Regions from separate parts of the Homo sapiens genome. Here regions 1 and 2 are each linked to region 3. The links are contacts of gene promoters, found by promoter capture Hi-C in human tissues and cell types (Jung and others, 2019). All regions are on one chromosome and are shown on one strand. Each heading gives the region's core, a stretch centred on a gene start or on the middle of the fragment in contact. The rest is flanking DNA. Distances are from core to core; before and after follow the strand shown.

Region 1 (3,269 bases), core at 738-3,237, 52 kb before region 3:
AAGGATGTGGCTCTGGTACCTTGGTGGAGATTGACTCAAGGACCTTGGTGCAGCCTGGCTCAGGGATCTTGGTGCAGCCTAACTCTGGAATCTTGGTGTTTCCAGGTTCCAGGTTCCAAGTTTTGGGTAGCATGGCTCCTTGGTTATGGGAACAAATGGTTCCTAAGGGAGAGGCTGGCTGTGCTGTTTCACCTGCTGCTGTTGAAGCTGAGGGGGTGAGGTAAAGGGCTGCTTCTGCTTGTGGGAACTCATGCTTCAAAGGATGCTGGATCTAGAGACAAAAAAGCAGATTCAGTGCTTTGATTAAATAGGAATGAAGCCAAAGTCAATGCCAAACATCTTATTGCATGTCCCCAGAGGAATGAGAACCTTGAACTCCTGGGCTCTTCTCTTTCTTCCTGTTTTCTGAATGTAATATCAAAGGAAACTTTGATAATCCCCAAGCAGTTTCAAAGGGAGAGAGTAAAAGTTGATTTGTTCTGCTCCATATAAGTTGTGTCCTCTTAGCTTCCATTTTTCTTGGTATATCTAAGAGCATACACTAGTGAGGGAACCTAACAAGCCTCCAAGGACTGATGGGAGGCCCCAGATTTGCAATAATTTGGAAAGGTCAATAGTCTAAAGTCTACTCACTCATGCCTACCTTATACAGTGCCATAGTTCTCATAGGAAAACTCCATCTAAACCTCCTCCTGAGGCCCATACAATCCAACTGTGACCCTGTTTTCACACGTTGCCCACTGCACATGTTTTCTGGAAGGCTCTCCGTGCCAACACTACTTGTCCACACCTGCCCACCCCTCCTGGTTGTCCTCCCTGATGGTCTCATTTGTGAGATTCTCCCATGGGCCTGAAAGCTTAAGGAGATGAATAACTCCTGCCTTCTCAGGCCCAGTCCCAAGGTGCAAGGCCACTTGCATCAGCAGCATGCGTCAGCAAGATAGCAGAAGCAGGAAGAGAGCTGGCTGAAGGACACCTACCCCGGCTGGAAGACACGTACCCCTGAAGATCCTGAAAGAGGCCATCCAGGTACAACATAGCAGTTGCGTCAGACTAGGACACATCCTGTTTACAGGAGACTGTAAAACCTTTGCCCCGTCCTCACTTGGGACTGACGCCATTTTAGGCCTCAGCTTCCCTGCACCCAGGCGCTCATTAAAACAGCATGTTTTGTCTCGTGTTGTCTGTTGGCATGTTCTCGGAGTTTGAACTGATACAAGAACCTTACACTCATCTTCCTTATTTAGCCACAGCATGGTACATGATTTGTCCTCTTTACTGATCTCATACTCCCCATGCTGTATGTTTGCAAAGTTTGTGCACGTGTTGTGTTCTCTGATAGATCATAGGTTTGTGTAGCAAGGAAGAATTTAACTTTTTTTTTTTCTTTTTAAGAAATGGGGTCTTGCTATGTCACCTAGGCAGGCCTCAAACTCCTGGGCTCAAGTGATCCTCCAGCCTCAGCCTCCAATGTTGGTGGAACTACAGAATGTGCCACTGCACCTAGATTTAAGTTTTGAACATCCAAATTGTCTAATGCAGTGCCTTTGATGCTGACAATTCTAAAAATCATACAGATGATTAAAATATCACTAAAAGTGCCCTGGGCATGGAGTCTAGTTCATTCCTCCTGCTCAGGGAACAGCACTCTAAAATAAGTCACTTCCCTTTTCTGAGTCTCAGTCCCACAGCTGTAATCTGAGTGGGAAGTCAAAAAGAACTGCTTTAGTACTGTTGTACCCGAGGGAGTTAGAAAAACGCCACACTTTGAGACGAATTAAGAGTCCTTTATTAGCCGGCGACCGAGAGACGGCTAATGCTCAAAATTCTCTCGGCCCCGAGGAAGGGGCTTGATTAACTTTTATATCTTGGTTTAGAAAGGGGAGGGGGTGTCTAGTTAAAACAATTTTACAGAATTTAAGTAGTCAAAAAGTTAAAAGGATAAATGGTTACAGGAAAGTAAACAGTTCCAGGTGCAGGGGCTTTAAGACTATTACAAGGGGGTAGACACGGGGCTTTGGGCATTATCAATCAGACGAATTCTTGGGGACTGTGGATATAGCTTGCCACAGTATCTTATCAGTTAATTGCATTCTTGGATGTGCTGGGAGTCAGCTTGCACAAGTTAAGTCCTTGAGGAAGGGGCTACAAGTGAAAGAGCCAAGATGGAGTTTGTCTGGTTCTCTCAGCTAAGGGAGAGTCTATTCAGGTGGAAACAAGGCTAGGTGAAAAAGGAAAAACAAGGTTGGGCATTACAGTACCCTTAAGTACAAACTGCAAATCCATTTCAAATAACCATAGCCTTAGCATTGCAAGGAGACCCCAATCAAAATAAGATACAATTAGGTGAATATTAAACAGTTTCAGGTTGGAACTCTTACTTCAGAAGATTGAGCTCCCTGGCCTCTCAGGTCTGGTTAGGAGTCTCTGGCCAACTGGGCTTTTATATGCAAAATGAGCCCTGCTATAAGGAAGTGGATTTGGGGAGGGCTGTTTTACCTTCATTCCAGCTGTGAAACCAGACAGGTCTCAGTTAATTTAGAAAGTTTGTTTTGCCAAGGTTGAGGATGCATGCCCGTGACACAGCCTCAGGAAGTCCTGACGACATGTGCCCAAGGTGGTCAGAGCGCAGCTTGGTTTTATACATAAGACATCAATCAACACATGTAAGATGAATATTGGTTCGGTCAGGAAAGGTGGGACAACAGGAAGCAGAGAGGGGGCTTCCAGATCACAGGTAGATAAGAGACAAATAGTTGCATTCTTTTGAGTTTCTGATTAGTCTCTCCAAAGGGGGCAATCAGATATGCATTTATCTCAGTGAGCAGAGGGGTGACTTTGAGTAGAATGGGAGGTAGGTTTGCCCTGAGCAGTTCCCAGCTTGACTTTTCCCTTTAGCTTAGTGATTTGGGGGCCCTGAGATTTATTTTCCTACCATTCTTCCCCCCTTTTCTTTTAAAAAATCTTTTGGAGAAAGCATTTTAGAAGAAATTGAGTCTCTTTTCCCAGGTTTCATCTGATCTCTCATGGCTAGGATGGTTTATTCCTAGATGGGTAGGTCCTGAGTTATTAGGAAAGCCCATTTTAGCAGGTTGTGAAGTCTCATGTTGTATGAAGAGAAAATAGGGGGAGGAAGGGAGAAAAACAAACAAAAGGAAAACCCTAGAAAATCGATGTAGGACACATTACTCTGAAGTCCATATATTAGTAGGCAGGTATGAAAGTGGCTTATGTATGTAAATAGGTTGCTATTATTTTCTTCCGAAGTT
Region 2 (2,948 bases), core at 347-2,846, 46 kb after region 3:
TTCTTGCTCAAACTGTATTTTTATTCCTTTGTGCTAGGAACATCCCAAAAGCAACAAGCCAAAGCCTATCATTGTAGTCCTTTGGGGCAACCTCCTCATTTCCCCACAGACACAGTTTGCTTTAGCTGGTAAGTTAATCAAAATCAGTTAGGATTTCCTAGTACAGAATATGTGCCCTTTACTGGGTTTCATTTTAAGGGATTAAATGGGTTCAAGAATGCAAAATGCTTTGAAAAATTCCTAACACATAAGAAAGAAGCAAAGTCTGTTTTCATGGTCTAATTAGACATGAGTAAAAGGCACAGAGGAAAACAAAAGGAACTTCTGAAATCCCAAATATGCTGTGTGAACCACTGCTTTCATTTGCTGAGCCCCTTTCGTGTGCTAGACACTAACCTAAGTACTTTGCAAGTGTTATTTAATAACGAAACCAATGCTGAAAGGTCAATATTTTTGTCTGCATTTTAATAATGAAGAAACAGATCAGAGATATGATGTAGCCTGCCCAGGATCACATAGAATGTAAGCAGAAGAGCTGGGTTCAATCTCAAGTGTGTGACTCCAGCAGACATCCTTTTAACCTCCACAGCAGTGCCTCACCTGGTCAGCTTGTTTTGTTTGCTTATAAATTATTTATTATTTTTATTATTTCCGTTACCTAGCAGAATGGTCCAAATGTTGATTTCTGAGGCATAAGAGCCAATGTTGTCCTTCCTATGTGTGATATTGTGGCATTACCGTAACTTTTACTCCTGGACAGGACAGTCTGGAGGAGATTTTTAAATGCTTGGAACTAAACAGTAGCATAAATATTGCATATCAGAACTCACTAGATATACAGAAAAAGCAATAAAAGTAAGGAGAATTAAGACTTTAAAAGTTTATATAAAATATGAAAGGCTGAAAATTAATGATCTAATACAGGAAAGTGGAATTAAAAAATAAATGCTAAAGAAAGTATATGTAGGCCGGGCGCGGTGGCTCACGCCTGTAATCCCAGCACTTTGGGAGGCAGAGGCGGGCGGATCACGAGGTCAGGAGATCGAGACCATCCCGGCTAAAACGGTGAAACCCCGTCTCTACTAAAAATACAAAAAATTAGCCGGGCGTAGTGGCGGGCGCCTGTAGTCCCAGCTACTTGGGAGGCTGAGGCAGGAGAATGGCGTGAACCCGGGAGGTGGAGCTTGCAGTGAGCCGAGATCCCGCCACTGCACTCCAGCCTGGGCGACAGAGCGAGACTCCGTCTCAAAAAAAAAAAAAAAAAAAAAAGAAAGTATATGTAAGAAAATACTAAATATAAAATGAAAAATTAATAAAATAAAAGACAAAGATATATTATATGAATCGACTAAGCCAAACCGATTCTTTGAAAAGGTGAAAAAAATAGTCAAAATTAAAAATGTTGACCAAGATAAAAAAGAGAAAAAAGTTAATATGGAAAGTTAAAAAAGGGTTGTAACTATAATTAAAACAGAAATTACAAAAAGAACCGAATTTGTAATAAATCTCAGACTTAAATGAGAAAGAGAAAACATTAGGAAGATTAATCAGTTGCTGTTGAACTTTCTTACTGTAGAGAGACTTTATTCAAAAGGATTATTGCAAGGAGGGAAATGGACCATTGCAATAGGAAGACACTCTGATTATAAGGTCCATAAATATCTCCTGTCAAACTTTCTAGATGTCTACAGTCTAACATTTTTTATGCCCTTCCTCCTGTTTTCTCAGCTCACCATTTTACCCAGGCTGTAGCTATGGCAACCACCTATGCTGAGGAGTATCCCACAGCACCTCACTTCAGCTGCACTAGGTGTCTCTCACATCTGCCCCAGGGCTCTTGACAGCCAGGCTGTGGAACACTCACAGCCGACTACTCAGTCATGCTGGTGGAAGCACAGGGTGGAAACGTGAGGAGGTTAACATCCTCCAGACAACCACTGGTTACTAGACATAGGAGTACACAGAGAGCAAGCATTCTTTTCAGTATCTCCAGCAAACAGTTCTAATATATGTTCTAGATGGCCCTTGGAAACTTCAGGGTGCGGTTTAGCCTGTTATCCACAGGAATACACAGCTCAACAGCACACCATTGGACTGACTTTCTCTCTCTATTGTTTTATTCTTCCTAGTGGCCCTGACTTCTGCTATTTGGGGTCACATCTCAAAATAAACTACTTGTACCTATTCACTTGTCGCAGACTGTGCTTCTTCAGGGAACCAACCTAAGACAGCTCTCTGAAATGTTTTAAAAGTTCTGCACTGCTCGTTACACTTTTAAGTTGAAGTCTTAATTTTTTTTTAATTATATGTGTAGTTACAAAGGATGCAGTTTTTATACTGTATATGTTAGTTCACTTCAATAAAATTATTATATTATTTTAAAGACATTTTAATGGTAATTTAAAACATATAAATGAACAGAATAGTAGAATAAATCACGTGTACATCAACTAGGTTTAATAACTTTCAAATTATGGACAACGTTGTTCATTTTATCTCTCTTACCACTTGCCTCCTACAGTGTTACTTTTAGCAAATCACAGACTCATGTCATTTCATCTCTTTATATCTATAAATACTTTTTTCAGTAGTTATGTTAAATATTATCACACCTTGAAAATACTAGCTAACATCTTTATACTAGGAAATATCCACTCAGTGTTCACATTTCCAATTATGCTACAAATCATTAATTTACTAATGACTTATTTGAAATGACATCAAAATAATGTAGATACATTTTTATTAATTAATACATCTATATATCTCTTAAGTTTATTTTGATCTAAAGGTTCCCAGTTTATTTCTTTTGTCCCTTTGCAATTTTTTATTAAAGAAACCATACTATTTGTCATATGGAGTTTTTCAGTCTGGATTTTGCTGACTTCATTCTCATGGTGTTGTTCAACACCACTTAGGTTTGGGTATCCTTTTGCTTTCATTTGTTT
Region 3 (2,884 bases), core at 72-2,571:
AGGCTGCTTCACTTGCTGCTGCTGGGCCCTCTGGGGTGGGCACTGCTGCTGCTGCCGCTGCTGCTGCTGGGAAGACATTGCTCTAGGAACAGGTGAGCCTAAAGGAAACCGGGCAGGGACACCATGAGAAGGGTGTTAAAAAGTAGCCTTTTAACACCCTTTTTAAAAAGATGGTTAAAAAGTAGCCCAGACATTTTACAAGGTCAAAGCATGCCATCTTAGCTGACAGATCTGGACAATGTCAACTGGCTCCCTTTGATAATGCAGACAATGAGAATGGGCAAGGATGTAGGGGCATGAGGAGAGGACAAAAACAGTCTCTGTCTTACAGGTAAGCATCATGGTGTGTGTGTGAGTGTGTGTGTGTGTGTGTGTGTGTGTGTGTGTGTGAGAGATCGGGCTGGAGAAGGGGTGTATAAGAATGCAGAGGCCTGATCTCTAATCCCTGCTCCACCCCTGACTCACCATGGGAGACTAAGGCAAGTCCTATGTGGCTACAGGATAGTGGTTCCAGCCCTCTACAAAGAACTGGGAAGCTTGAGGGCCAGCCAAATAGATCACTGGAGCCAAAGGATGACAGGAGGATGTTCAAAGGAAAGAGCGCTAGCCAAGAAGGCTCAGACATTGGTTCTAGGTCCATCCTGCCATTAACTTCATGGGCAACCTTCCTTCTGTGGGTCTCAGCACCCTTATTAGAAGGATGCTGGTCAGGAAGTTCCCTGAAGCCTTCCCAGCTCTGATGAGGGTCTCTGGCTATCTTTGTAGGCAGTGTTCCTTATGGTCTAAGTTAATGATTATAGATGGGAAGTGCAGGCCTCAGGAAGTAAAGAGGTGGCAATCAGAATAGGGAAGCATGAGAGCTGCATAGGATTGAATAAAATGTTCAATATACCTGTTTGCATACACCTGGAAGAAAAGTTTAAAGCTTACTGGTAAGCAAAATGCAGAATAGGGTGTGAGAAACCTTTAAACAGGGCTCGGAATTGCTACAAAATCCTGTAGCTCTAAATATCTCCTTCTTCAACAATAAAAATCTTCTTTCTGGGGAGTCAAACCCATGATCAGAAAATAAGTCATACTGAGCAATGGTGCGGAATGGAGATTAAACTTTCTAAGTACCGATTAGTGTGCCATTTCCGCAATTGTCAGAAGACTTGTGTCACTTCCCTGATTACCCAAGGATGGAAGAGGATCTTGGCCTAGCGGCTCAAAGGAGTTAAAGGAGAAGGAAAGCGCCCCACAAATCCCAGGAGAACAGATGAGTTCTCACTTACCAGAGGCGACAAGCTGGACCCCAGGAGAGGAGGCTGAGCCCTTGTCCACAGGCAGAGCCACTCCAGGAGCCTTTATAGGGCCCCCAACCTGCCCTGGGCACTTGGTGTGGTCCTGATTACCACCTCCCAGGGAATTCCTCACCCACTTCTCCCACCTGCACTTCCTTCAGGGACTTGCTTTGCTGACCTGTTTTGATGAAAGCCACCCACCATATATTTTCAGCATTCCAAGTCTCTGCACCTGAGCTGATTTAACCCACCAAAGGTGTTTGCTCAAACTCAGGGATTCAAGATCTTTTAAATATAGTACAAATTGAAGGAGCTGTTTGCAGACAGACAGTTATAAGAAATATTGAAGAAAAAAGAGGAAGAGGGAGAGGATGGGGTTTGGGGCAATTCTGACAAAAATGTGAACATCCCTTTTTCTGCAAATTGCTGCCATTTCTTGAGCACTCACTGTGAGGCTAGCACCAGGACCATCCGTCATGCTTATTATTTCATTTCATCTTCATGGCCCCTCTAGGGAAAGTGTCGTTGTTACCATTTTGCAGATGAAAAAAGTGAGGCTGAGAAAGATTAAACAGCAGAGATGGGATTTGAATTCAGATCTGGATGATTCAATGCCTAGCCCCAGGTACCACTCATCCCCCTTCCTCAATACACAGTGCAAGTGTCCTTCCTATTCCAGGGGGACAGTTCACGAAGTGTTCTGTGAGGCTTCTCTGGGGCACAGGTAGAAGATGATGTGAATGGTGCCCCAGCACACGGCGGTGCTGTCCCCATCTGCCCATTGGGAGTTGGGGTGCTGAGGAGTATTCGTGGTGGTTACAGAACATGGGATAGAATTGGCCCCTGTGGTAGACTTGCCACATAAAATACAGGACATTCAGTTAAATTTGAATCTCAGATAACAGAATATTTTAAAAGTATAAGTATATTCCAAATATTGCAGGAAACATACTCAAAAATTACTTGTAGTTCATATGAAATTCAAATTTCACTGGGCAGGCTCTATTTTTATTTGCTAAATACAGCAATCCTACTCAGGGCCTTATCTAGGTGGCAGGAAGGAGCCCTGGTCCTCCATTTAGCCTCCTAGGCCCTGGGATGGAGAAAGGCAGGGCCTCTGGGAAGCTGGTCCACCTCTAGCCCTCTACCCCAAAGATCGACCTCAGGATGCTGCCCAACAAGAGGCCATGCAAGGGCTCACCACTGCCATCACCAGAGGAAGGGGTAGGATGGCCTGAGAAATGATAGGAATACCTTAATGTACTTTCCAAAGCATTTTTCAAATCCCTCACCTCATTTAATCCTCATGACAATTTTACTGACAATTTAAAGAGGCTGGCCCAAAGAAGTTAAAGGACCTGCTCAACCACATGCAGCTGCTCAGGGTGGAGCTGGGTGGGTGCCTGGCCTGGGGCTCATTTCCACTCCATCACCGCAGTCAGCATCTCCATGGTGGACAAGTCACTGTCATTGGGTGGGGACCATGACTAATAACGTCTCCTGAGCTTTCTGTCTTATGTGGATGGAATACTGTTCATTTTTCAGGGTCAGCCTCACTTTAATCAGCCCCTTAATTTTCCCCTCCAGGCCAGACCTCCCCC

The links. The method cuts DNA at HindIII sites, captures the fragments that hold promoters and counts their contacts. A contact is called where the count stands out against the background at its distance.
Region 1: a fragment that was not itself captured here is called in contact with the fragment with the promoter of SPRR4 in region 3 in 3 of the 25 tissues and cell types used here (H1 embryonic stem cells, adrenal gland and pancreas).
Region 2: a contact is called between a fragment that was not itself captured here and the fragment with the promoter of SPRR4 in region 3, in 2 of the 25 tissues and cell types used here (aorta and liver).

The regions. Positions count from the first base shown.
Region 1 is chr1:153,020,945-153,024,213 of GRCh38, reverse strand. It overlaps LOC105371446 (a long non-coding RNA gene), which reads right to left. Exons shown (of 3, transcript XR_922151.2): 3 at 1-271. Among named protein-coding and RNA genes, the nearest start is that of SPRR1B, 8.6 kb to the left of the region's middle. RefSeq lists an enhancer at 239-1,438. The HindIII fragment of the contact is 5,832 bases long and covers 1-3,269 here.
Region 2 is chr1:152,923,239-152,926,186 of GRCh38, reverse strand. No RefSeq gene overlaps it. Among named protein-coding and RNA genes, the nearest start is that of IVL, 16 kb to the right of the region's middle. The HindIII fragment of the contact is 6,343 bases long and covers 1-2,948 here.
Region 3 is chr1:152,969,085-152,971,968 of GRCh38, reverse strand. It overlaps SPRR4 (small proline rich protein 4), which reads right to left and starts at 1,321. Exons shown (of 2, transcript NM_173080.3): 1 at 1,275-1,321; 2 at 1-98. The coding sequence starts at 78. The HindIII fragment of the contact is 6,838 bases long and covers 732-2,884 here.